2 separate regions of the Homo sapiens genome follow, and region 2 is linked to region 1. The links are contacts of gene promoters, found by promoter capture Hi-C in blood cells and fetal thymus (Javierre and others, 2016). All regions are on one chromosome and are shown on one strand. The core of a region is centred on a gene start or on the middle of the fragment in contact, and the rest is flanking DNA. Distances in the headings are between cores, read along the strand shown. Region 1 holds the start of SRP68 (signal recognition particle 68). Region 2 overlaps UBE2O (ubiquitin conjugating enzyme E2 O).

The links. The method cuts DNA at HindIII sites, captures the fragments that hold promoters and counts their contacts. A CHiCAGO score of 5 or more calls a contact.
Region 2: a fragment that was not itself captured here is called in contact with the fragment with the promoter of SRP68 in region 1 in 3 of 17 cell types (M0 macrophages, naive CD8 T cells and M1 macrophages); the score reaches 5.5 in M0 macrophages.

What each region holds. Positions count from the first base shown.
Region 1 is chr17:76,068,686-76,075,042 of GRCh38, reverse strand. It overlaps SRP68 (signal recognition particle 68), which reads left to right and starts at 2,526. Exons shown (of 16, transcript NM_014230.4): 1 at 2,526-2,735; 2 at 4,599-4,665. The coding sequence starts at 2,552. GALR2 (galanin receptor 2) reads right to left here and starts at 262. Exons shown (of 2, transcript NM_003857.4): 1 at 1-262. The coding sequence starts at 159. RefSeq lists enhancers at 1-197, 1,584-2,411, 2,364-2,413, 2,412-3,239. The HindIII fragment of the contact is 7,541 bases long and covers 1-3,200 here.
Region 2 is chr17:76,423,375-76,429,201 of GRCh38, reverse strand. The region is part of intron 1 of UBE2O (ubiquitin conjugating enzyme E2 O); the gene reads left to right. Among named protein-coding and RNA genes, the nearest start is that of UBE2O, 27 kb to the left of the region's middle. RefSeq lists an enhancer at 5,666-5,827. The HindIII fragment of the contact is 1,070 bases long and covers 1,567-2,636 here.

The DNA of each region.
Region 1 (6,357 bases), core at 1,277-3,776:
GCCGCGCAGCAGCACCGCCAGCACCAGCGTGTTGCCCACGGTGCCCACGAGGAAGATGAGCGCGAAGAGCAGGGGCACGATGACCGCCTCGGGGTGCCAGCCTCCCCCGCCGCCCGCCTGGCTCGCGTTCCCGGCCCCTGGGCAGCCCGAGACGTTCATGGTGCCGCTGACCCCGAGGCTGCCCGGGCTCCTGCAGCCGTCTGGGTCTCCGCGAGCGGGAAGCTCCCGGGGCTGCGGCCGCTGCAACTCCTAGTGCGACTCTGCCGGGCTGAAGGCGGAGGGAGCCTTGCCTCATCTGGGGCGGGGATGGGGGTGCGCTGGGGTCAGGAGGAGGAGCAAGAGACAGGAGGGCGAGGTTGTCCCCAGCAGCGGCCGGCGGCGCTGGGGGAAGGGCTGCGGAGTGGTCCCGGCGCGCATTCCACGGCGCAGGCGGAGAGTGGCGCTTGTACCTGCTTCCGAGCTCCAGCCCCCGCAGTCGGGGGTTCTGGGCTGACCAGGCGGACTGACTTCCCCGGCAGACGCCGGAGCGGTGGAGGGGTCGACCCCGGACCCTGCGTGTGCGCCGCGCCGCAGGGAGCACGGACCTCGCACTCCGCGCGCCTCGGCGCTTCCCTGCAGCCTGGCAGGGGTGCAGGATATCCCGGGACCGTCGAGGGGCTGGGGTGCCCTCAAAAGAGGACCCCTGGGAGATCGGGGGGAGGAAACGCGGGGCGGAGGCGGATGAGGGGCCCCGGAGTCTGGCTCTTTCGCCCAGGCTAGAGTGCAGTGGCGCGATCTCGGCTCACTGCAACCTCCGTCTCCCGGGTTCAAACGGTTCTCCTGCCTCGGCCTTCTGAGGGGCTGGGACTACAGGCGTCCGCCACAACGTCTGGCTAGTTTTTTGTATTTGTATTTGTTGAGACAGAGTCTCACTCTGTCGCCCAGGCTGGAGTGTAGTGGCATGATATCGGCTCACTGCAACCTCCGCCTCCCGGGTTCAAGCGATCCTCCTGCCTCAGCCTCCCGAGTAGCTGGGATGACGGGCGCCTGCCACCACGCCTGGCTTATTTTCGTATTTTTAGTAGAAATGGGGTTTCACCATGTTGGCCAAGCTGGTCTCAAACTCCTGACCTCAAGTGATCCGCCCACCTCGGCCTCCCAAAGTGCTGGGATTACAGGCGTAAGCCACCGAGCCCGGCCACCTTTTTCCCTTCTCTTACCCATTGAACGTTTTCCCTCCAATTCAATCCAATATACTGAGCATCTATTGTGTCAGGCTCTGTCTTTGGCTCCATGCCTCAGTTTCCTCAGCTGTAACAAGGAAATGGTAACACTTCCTTCTAAGAGGGATCTGCTGAGAAAGGAATGAGATGTATGGGAGAGTTAGTTAAATCTGAATGCATCAGATCCTTATTCTTTTTCTCCTGACCTTATTCCGTATACCTTGAGGAAATTCAAAATAGAGTTCAGGGCCGGGCGCGGTGGTTCACGCCTGTAATCCCAGCACTTTGGGAGGCCGAGGCGGGCGGATCACGAGGTCAGGAGATCGAGACCATCCTGACCAACATGGTGAAACCCCGTCTCCACTAAAAATACAAAAATTAGCGGGACGTGGTGGCAGGCGCCTGTAATCCCAGCTACTCGGGAGGCTGAGGCAGGAGAATGGCTTGAACCCAGGAGGCAGAGGTTGCAGTGAGCCGAGATCACACCATTGCACTCCAGCCTGGGCAACAAGAGCGAAACTCTATCTAAAAAAAAAAAAAAAATCCGTCATTTAATCTTCCTAACAACCACTTAAATTGGTTATCCCCATTTCATAGATGAAGGAACAGATTTACAGGGAGATTAAGTTACGTGCCCAACATGTCCCTGCCGCTAATGACGGAGCGGGGATTGGAATCCCAGGTCTCAGACTCTAGAAGGTGCAAAGCAAAAATTCATATTTTCCCATGTCTCAACACTTCTCCCTCTTTGGACTGACGGCCCCAAAGTGCAGTGGTCCACGGCCCCAAGCGGTCTGAGAAAGTCACCCCGTTAGGACACCGTCTGCTGACTGCGCAGCGCTTCCTCCGGCTTGGCGTTCTTACGGCCAGCCTCAGAGGAAAGGGCAGGCAGAGGCGGGTCCCTTACGGACGGGGTGTCCCGTTCCGGTAGGGAGGACCCCATCTCTTGAGTCCCTGGGGATGCAGACACCCCGAAATCCAGTATCTTTGGTCTCCTGCTTTCTGCTGGGCAGGACGTGAACCAGATCCCCAGTCCAGGATGCAGGACCTGGGGTCCACCTCCGGTTCTCCGCCCTTAGTGGGTGGGAGGTGGGACTGCCCCCTGAGATCTCAGCAGCCACGGTCTCACTGCGGCCTCAAGTCCCCACCTAGCCAGCCACAATTCCGGACCCGGGATGACAGGATCCCTCGCGCAGGCGCGCTCCAGCACATGGCGCCCTGCTGCAGCAAGGGCCGACGGCGGCGGAGTCCGCCGCTATCCCATCAGCCCGGCCAGGCAGGTCCAGCTCTCACCCGCCCAGGTCGTCCCGCCTCCCCTATCCCGTCTTGCTCTGCGGCGCAGGGGCAAGATGGCTGCTGAGAAGCAGGTCCCAGGCGGCGGCGGCGGCGGCGGCAGTGGCGGCGGCGGTGGCAGTGGCGGCGGCGGTAGCGGCGGTGGACGTGGTGCCGGAGGGGAAGAAAATAAAGAAAACGAACGCCCTTCGGCCGGATCGAAGGCAAACAAAGAATTTGGGGATAGCCTGAGTTTGGAGAGTATCCTAGAGTAATCGGGCCTAACTCGCAATGATTACGTGTCGAACTGGAGGGCTGGGGGCGGGAGAGGCGGCGGGTCCCGACAAGTCCTGGCAGGAGAGGCCGAGGGTTGCAGTTTCTCTCGCCCTTACCTTTTGGTGCTCAGAATTCCGGGGGGGGTCTGTCTCTCGACTAGTCTTTCCTCGTGTCCCCCTCGCCGTCCTGGCTAGGTCCGTTTCTTCCAGTGGCACTGGGATATCAGGCAGGTTTCCCCTGGTGCCCCGCAGTTGTCCAGTTGGAGGGCTTGTGACCAAGTGACACCTTGAGCACCTTGCTTTGGCACCTTGAGCCACTGAACTGGGGAGAGGAAACTGCAGTCTTGACATTTGGCTTAATACTCTTGTCTGACAGTCGTCATAGACTGAGTAGTAAAACCTACAGCTCGATACTTTGAAAGTGGAGGTAAAGATTGACTCAGGAAAAGCTTGTTGCCCATTTTGATTGTAAGTTACCGTAGTTAATATCGATTGTGTCATTTTTTTCTGATCGGTCTGTAGGCATTTTATCTTGCTGACAGTCATTCATATAAGCTGGAGGAATCGGTTTCTAGTTTCCATCAGTGTGTATCTCAACCAAGTGCTTGTGGTACTAGTTTGTGACCTTTTGAAATGAATAACAAATGGAGAAAACGTAGGCGAGTTTCTGAAATAACACATTCAACTTGACATCTTAATGTGCTTAAAGTTCTCAGGCGCTTGGAGTTAAATATTTTGAATTACTGGTAATAGTTCCAAGTAGACGCTAGCGAGCCCTGATTTTACTGAGACCTTTATATCTCTTTGTCCCGTTTTAGTAATTTAAAGAGTCCTTTTAGCGTTCACTATTTTAAAATATGTCTCTAGAGAAGTGTTGAGGAAACATTAAAACTATACCTATATAGATGAAGGTCATTGGACTTTCTAAAGATTAGTACATAATCTTAAATATTTTAAGATTATTAAAAGGAGAATCTGGCCATTCTTCTTTTGAAAGAAAAACCTTAATACTTTTATGCAAACTGTAGCCTAGCTTGGTTGACATGTGCTAATCATAGACTCTCTAAGCATCACAGCTGTTAAGGAAAGTTAGATTTGGCAGGTGTTGGAGATTATGCAAATGGAGGCTTAGTACATGTCATTTATAACCTGAATCTGAATGAATAAAATGTGGGGTCTAGGTGTTAATTGGTGTGAAGCACCCCAATTATAGTCAGCATTTAGAATCCATCAGCTTAATTTAAACTGGGTTTTGGCAGTTTCCAGTGGCCAGTAGTGCCCTCCTTTTTCAGTTTGCAAGTAGTAACAGTTCAGGCAATCAGTTTTCCTGTAGGTTAGCCCTGTCCTGTGACAAGATAGATATTGAAAATGGTTACAAAAGATCTCACCAGTGTACTAAATATTTCACAAATTTGTGTGTGTGTGTGTGTGTGTGTGTGTGTGCATGTGCATGTGTGACTGAATCTCACTCTCACCTAGGCTGGAGTGCAGTGGCGCTGTCTTGGCTCATTGCAACCTCTGCCTTCCAAGTTCAAGCGATTCTCCTGCCTCAGCCTCCCGAGTAGCTGGGATTACAGGTGCTAGCCATTGCGCCCGGCTAATTTTTTGTGTTTTTAGTAGAGACGGGGTTTCACCATGCTGGCCAGGCTGGTCTTGAACTCCTGACCTCAGGTGATACACCCGCCTCGGCCTCCCACAGTGCTGGGATTACAGGCATGAGCCACCGTACCTGGCTATATTTCACAAATGTTTAATGTGTTGTGGTTTGACACAGATATAGACTGATGGTACAGGTTTTGATTTGTTTGGATTCTTGCTATGGTAAGATTTTCCTTAATCTCGACTCTAGTTCTTCAGATTATTAAGGAATCCCAGCAGCAGCATGGTTTACGGCATGGAGATTTTCAGAGGTACAGGTTAGTATCACATACAAGATGTTTGGAAATCATTGTGGGACTTGCTTTGCTTTTGTTAATATCCTGTTTACTCTGCTATATCAGCAAATATGCTAGAAAGTCTAGAGCATTGTTTTTTTTGTTTGTTTGTTTGCTTTGTTTTTTTTTTTTTTTTTGAGATGGAGTCTCGCTCTGTCGCCAGGCTGGAGTGCAGTGGCGCAATGTTGGCTCACTGCAACCTCCACCTCCTGGGTTCCAGCGATTCTCCTGCCTCAGCCTCCTGAGTAGCTGTTTTTTTTGTTTGTTTGTTTGTTTGTTTTTTGAGATGGAGTCTCACTCTGTCACCCAGGCTGGAGTGTAGTGGCGCAATCCTGGCTCACTGCAGCCCATGCCTCCCGGGTTCAGGTGATTCTCCTGCTTCTGCCTCCAGAGTACCTGGGATTATAGGCATGTGCCACCATGCCTGGCTAATTTTTGTATTTTTAGTAGAGATGGGGTTTCGCCATGTTGGCCAGGCTGGTCTCAAACTCCTGACCTCAGGTGATCCACCCACCTCAGCTTCCCAAAGTGTTGGAATTACAGGCGTGAGCCACCGTGTCTGGCCTATTTCTTTTTTTTTTTTTCTTTTAAATAATCTATACCCTGGTAGCTTTGATTGAGATGCTGAAGTAGTATTTATTTTATTTATTTTTGATACGGAGTCTCACTCTGTTGCCCAGGCTGGAGTATAGTGGCGCGATCTCGGCTCACTGCAACCTCCGCCTCCCGGGTTCAAGTGATTCTTCTGCCTCAGCCTCCTGAGTGGCTGGGACTGAAGGCACATGCCACCATGCCCGGCTAATTTTTAGTAGAGACAAGATTTCACCATGTTGGCCAGGCTGGTCTTGAACTCCTGACCTCAGGTGATCCACCTGCCTCAGCCTCCCAAAGTACTGGGATTACGGGTGTGAGCCAATGTGCCTGGCCTATTTATTTATTTTTATTTCATTTTATTTATTTACTTATTTTTTTGAGACAGAGTCTTTGTCTGTCACCCAGTCTGGAATGCAGTGGCACGATCTCGGTGTACTGCAACCTCCGCCTTCCGGGTTCAAGCAGTTCTCCTGCCTCAGCCTCCCGAGTACCTGGGACTACAGGCATGCACCACCATGCCTGGCTAATTTTTGTATTTTTAGTAGAGATGGGGTTTCACCATGTTGCCCAGGCTGGTCTCGAACTCCTGACCTCAAGTGATCTGCCTGCCTCAGCCTCCCAAAGTGCTAGGATTACAGGCGTGAACCACCACGCCCGGCCCCTGAAGTAGTATTGAAATATCATTTTGTATTGTAAATTATGTGCTGTATTACTTTGACTTAAAGGTTGGTGCAATTTTATATATATATATATTTATTTATTTATATATATATTTTAAACTAATTTAGTCAAAATGTATGTATTGAACATCTGCATATTAGACACTGTGGTAAGGCATTGTGGAAAATTTAAAAATGAAATCCTAGCTGGAATGGTGGCACATGCCATAGTGCCAGTTACTTGGGAGGATGAGGCCCGAGAATTGCTTAAGCCCCGGAGTTCGAGCCCAGCCTGGGCAACAGCAACATAGTGAGACTCTGTCTCAAAAAAATAATTCTCCCTGCACTAAAGGGATTTATATTAGTGGACAACTATGTGAGAACATAATTATAATGTCACACACTGTAATAGAAGGAAGAA
Region 2 (5,827 bases), core at 852-3,351, 350 kb before region 1:
CTGGCTGGACGCGGTGGCTCATGCCTGTAATCCCAGCACTTTGGGAGGCCGAGGCGGGCAGATCACGAGGTCAGGAGTTCGAGACCAGCCTGGCCAACATGGTTAAACCCCGTCTCTACTAAAAATACAAAAATTAGCCGGGCATGGTGGCATGCGCCCGTAATCCCAGCTACTCGGGAGGCTGAGGCAGGAGAATTGCTTGAACCCAGGAGGCAGAGGTTGCAGTGAACCAAGATCATGCCACTGCACTCCAGCCTGGGCGACAGAGCAAGACTCCATCTCAAAAAAAAAAAAAAAAATAGTAGAGGGGTCCCCTCTACCCTTCATGCAGTTTCCCTTGATGGTCATGTCTTATATAATCACAGACAATATGAAAATCAGGGAATTGACATGGGTACACAATATGTGCATACAGTTTCACACCCTTTATCACATCTGTGGATTCATGTAACCACATGTAACAGCAGTCAAGATACACAACTCTTCCATCACCACAAAGATCTCTTATTGCCTCACTTTTAAATAGGAATGGATGCCAAGAATAACTGGATATGTTCAGAAAGCTTCCAGTATGGAAGGTAGAGGCCAGAGAAAGCAAAGAGAAAAATGTATCTCCGAGGAATCAGAGCTGATTCAGGTAGGAGAAAGCCTTAAAGCACATGGCAAATATACTCAGAAAGAAGAGCCAATATTTTATCCATGAAATAAAAAGTTACTATAAAAATCAGAACAAGAAAGAGTTCTCGGAAATTAAAACCATTACTTTTTCTTTGAAGTTGACGAAGGCTCCCAGGAAACAGATTAAAAACGTCTGACATCTAGGAAGTCTATAAAGAGAGAAAGGGAAAATTAAGGACCATAATGTATCAGAGAAACAAGAATTATTTCAGAATGGACAGTCATAAGTTTCAAAAATGGTAAATGGAAAATGTCCTGTGGCACATTGTGTGATTCCAGAGCACTGGGCATAAAGCTTCCGAAGAGCAAAAACGGGTCACATACAAAAGACTGGGAATGAAGATGGATTGGATTTTTCAACCTCATTGGAAGCCAGAAGACAATGGGGTGGATTTCCTGTTTCAGTGACATGGTAGCTTGAGCTAAAGTTAGAACCGCTCCCATTACAATCACTTAAAATGCTATATAAGCTATAACAACAGAATAAGAAAGAAAAACAGAGAACCGAAAGCAAAGCAGGAATATAAAGCCAGAGCAGAGTAGGCAGCTCTGGGGAGGGGCAAGGTGGGTTCATTGGACCCTGAAATCGACCCTAACAATAATAGAGGTTTGGATTTGCATGAACACGTGAAGCATGGAGTTGAAACAGAAATCCCCTCAAAAGAGCCATTCCCAGGTAAAAGGGATGCAAGAAAATTTCCCCCATGGGATCAGAGAAATGTCAAGGGAGCTGATCATTGCCCCACACTCTGGATTGTGTTGGAGGAAGTCTTCTGTGAACAGTGGAAAACATCCAAGTTCTAAGTCTGTGTTTATAACATCTACATGTTGCAGGAATGCCCGAGCTGGCACCAGACCAGCCAGCAGACTGGCGATACCCCTGAAGCTTCTTGCTTGCAGAACAAAGGCAGAACTTTTCTAGAGTGACCCTTGCACAGTACAGGCCTTTTGGAATCCTAGGATGCCCACAGATGATGAGCTTGTTCTAGGAAATTACCAAGCATGTAGAAATTAGAACATGAGTCAGCGATCACAACAAACACAAGATTCTCAACATGAGAATTCAAATAATAGAAGAGATTATAATAGAAATGTCTAAAGTGATTGAAGGGCTAAAAGAAGAAATAGATGTCAAAGGAAAGAATAAGACAGAATACATCTTAAAAGGGATTATTTTTTAAAGAATCAAATAAAGCCTCTAGAGTGAAAACATTGAGTTAAAACCCCAGTGGAAATGTTAAACAGCAAATAGCATAAATTCTCAAGAGAGAACTATGGGAACTGGAAAACAGATCTGCAGAAGTTAGTTAGAATTCTGCAGAGATAAAAGAGATGCTTGTGAGGAAGAGACATTACAAACATGGATGGTGGTATGAGGGCCCAGTGGGAAAAATAGCATCCTAAAGGCAGCTTGAGAAGAAAGGCAGATTACTCCCCAGGTTCAACAGTGAAACTCAGGAAATGCCAAGTAGCAACAGTAGAGGCCATAAGGAAGTAAAATCTTCAGTGTGCTAAGGAAAATCAGTTGTTGGCTTAGTTTTCAGCAACCAGCTTAAATTATCGTTCAATAATGGGAACAAATAAGGACATTTTCACAGAAAAAAAAAAAAGTTGTATTTACTAAGAGACCTTCGCTGTACTTCGGGAAGAAGGAAGTAAGGAGAAAGGAGAAATGCGGACAGTAATGGTATCCAGAGGCGTTGGGAAGTGCAGGTAAATCTGAATAAGCATTCGCTTCTGAAAGTGATCGTCACTAATTTGGAGAGGATTAAAAACCAAAGTCCCAACAAAAAATGGAAATCAGTGAGGGGGTGATTTGAATGAACACACTCTTAAGTTCTTTGAACTGTTTGGGAAGTGTAGGAGGGATATTGATTGACTTCAAACTTTCTGAGTCAAGTAGACATGTTCCAATTTTAAGGGTAACCACCAAAAGAATAGAAATAGTGTTTAAAGCTTTCAAACTCACAGAGGGTAAAAATATGGAATTTTAAAACTAGGTCATTTGTCTAAAAGAAAGAGAGCAAAGAAAAAATATGGTAGCCAGAAAGCCCTAAAGGTAGTAGAAATAAATCCACATGGATCACAATGAAAGTAAACAATTATATGTGCCAGTTAAGACAGGTACTCAGACTGGAAGACAGCAGAGCAAATCCTGCAACATTCTGAGAGAATTCCGTATCCAGCCCAACTACGTCAAGTAGAGTAGAAAAAAGTTCTTTTGGCTGGGCATGGTGGTTCACGCCTGTAATCCCAGCACTTTGGGAAGCCAAGACAGGAGGATCGCTTGAGCCCCGTTCGAGACCAGCCTGGGAAACATGGCAAAACCCTGTCTCTACAAAAAAATACAAAAATTAGCCAAGTGTGGTGTTGTGCATCTGTAGTCCCAGCTACTCAGGAGGCTGAAGTAAGAGGATCATTTGAGCCCAGGAGGTTGAGGCTGCAGTGAACCATGATCACACCACTACACTCCAGCCTAGGTGACAGAGTGAGACCCTCCTTTTAGGCATGTAAGGGCTGGAAAAAAAGTGCCTCCTGTGAACCTCTTGTGGGGAGGAGATAGAAGGAGTTGTTCTTCACCAAAACCAGGGACTTTTCCCAGGATCCAGGAAACGGGATCTGACACAGGTGAGCGGCAGAGGAAAGTCTGAGTTAGAGAGACAGGATGGAATTCTGCAGGAGGGAGAGAGATCGACAAGAAAAAGACACAAAGCCCAAAGATACCTGATCGATAATTTGTAGGTAATTTGAAGATATTTAGAAAAGTTATGGATAGGTATTTGACAAAAGTATCAATATGTACATAGTTGTGTGAGGACACGGAACACCACTTGGTTCAGCTGTGAGCTCTGTCCTCCATCATAACACATTTAGATTTTTCAATTAATGCAGTGGAACTGTTGAAAGGATGGAGTACAGGCAAAGGGCTTCAGAGGGGAGGGTAAGAGTTAGGTCATCAGGTACCAAAACAGGACGTCAATAGATAATGTCTATAATAAGTTAGGAATTAGGGTGCAAGCATGTTGTTTATATGTATGGAGGTAAATATTCAAACAGCTAAAAAATTAAAAAGTATTTGCTTCAAAAGAGCACAGTTGAGAGGGTAAGATGGGGGACTGCCTGTTTTTGTTAAGCCTTTTAGTACTATGTTTTTTTTTTAACTTAGGCATGCATTGTTTTGATACAATTAAGCTAAACTATTATTTAAAAAAATACAATATGAGCCAAGTAGGTCCTTTAAAATTTTTTAGTGACCACATTTTTTTCTTTTACTTTTTTTTTTTTTTTTTTTTTTTTTGTCGAAAGGACCTTGAGAAGTGACCACATTTTAAAAACATTAAAAGAAACAGGTGAACCGGGTGCGGTGGCTCACGCCTGTAATCCCAGCACTTCAGGAGGCCCAGACGGGTGGATCACGAGGTCAGGAGATCGAGACCATCCTGGCTAACATGGTCAAATCCCGTCTCTACTAAAAATACAAAAAAGTTAGCTGGGCGTGGTGGCGGGTGCCTGTAGTCCCAGCTACTCGGGAGGCTGAGGCAGGAGAATGGCATGAACCTGGGAGGCGGAGCTTGCAGTGAGCTGAGATCGCGCCACTGCACTCCAGCCTGGGTGACAGGGTGAGGGCGAGACTCTGTCTCAAAAAAAAAAAATAAAAAATAAAAAAAAAAAAAGAAACAGGTGAAATTAATTTTGGAGGTAGAGGTGGATGGAGTCTTGCTCTGTTGCCCGGGCTGGAGTGCAGTGGCTCGATCATAGCTCATTGTAACCTCAAACACCTGGCTTAAGGGATCCTGCTGCCATTTTTTTATGTAGAGATAGGGTCTTACTCTGTTGCCCAGGCTGGTCTTGAACTCCTGGCCTCAAGCAATCCTCCCACCTTGGCTTCCCAAAGTGCTGGAATTACAGACATGAGCCACCTCACTCAGCCAGAAATTAATTTTAATGTTTTATTTAACTCAGTATATATCCAAGATACCATTTCAGAATGTAACGAATATAAAAAATACTAGTGGGCTGGGCACGGTGGTTCACGCCTGTAATCCCAGCACTTTGGGAGGCTGAGGTGGGCGAATCACGTGAGGTCAGGAGTTCGAGACCAGCCTGGCCAATATGGTGAAACCCTGTCTCTACAAAAATACAAAAAATTAGCAGAGTGTGGTGGCTCACACTTGTAATCCCAGCTACTGGGGAGGCTGAGACAGGAGAATCGCTTGAACCTGGGAGACAGAGGTTGCAGTGAGCCTAGGTTGTGCCATTGCACTCCAGGCTGGGCAACAAAAGTTAAATTCTGTCTCAAAAAAAAAAAAAAAAAAGGCCGGGCGCGGTGGCTCACGCCTGTAATCCCAGCACTTTGGGAGGCCGAGACGGACGGATCACAAGGTCAGGAGATCGAGACCATCCTGGCTAACATGGTGAAACCCCGTCTCTACTAAAAATACAAAAAAATTAGCTGGGCATGGTGGCGGGGGCCTGTAGTCCCAGCTACTCAGGAGGCTGAGGCAGGAGAACGGCGTGAACTTGGGAGGTGGAGCTTGCAGTGAGCCAAGATCGCGCCGCTGCACTAGCACTACAGCCTGGGTGACAGAGCGAGACTCCGTCTCAAAAAAAAAAAAAAAAAAAAAAAGAACCCAACCTGGAAGTAGCTGAGAGCCACCTGGTGTGAAGAGAGGAAGTCTCCTCTCCTGTGTTCTGGTTCCTTTGCGGACACTGTGCCGTAGGCCACCTCTATCAATTATGTCCTGGGCCTGAATCTTCAGGCTCTCCCTTGGCAGCTTCCTGCCTGACCTTATTTTTTATTTATTTATTTATTTATTTATTTATTTATTTTGAGATGGAGTGTCCCTCTGTCACCCAGGCTGGAGTGCAGTGTTGTGATCTCGGCTCACTGCAAGCTCCGCCTCCCAGGTTCAAGCGATTTTCCTGCCTCAGCCCCCCAAGTAGCTGGGACTATAGGTACGTGCCACCATGCCTGGCTAATTTTTTGTATTTTTAGTAGAGACTGGGTTTCACCATGTTAGCCAGGATGGTCTTGATCTTCTGACCTCATGATCCTCCCACCTCGGCCTCCCGAAGTGCTGGGATTACAGGCATGAGCCACCACGCCGGGCCCTCATTTTTATTTTTACTGTATTTATTTTTTAGAGAT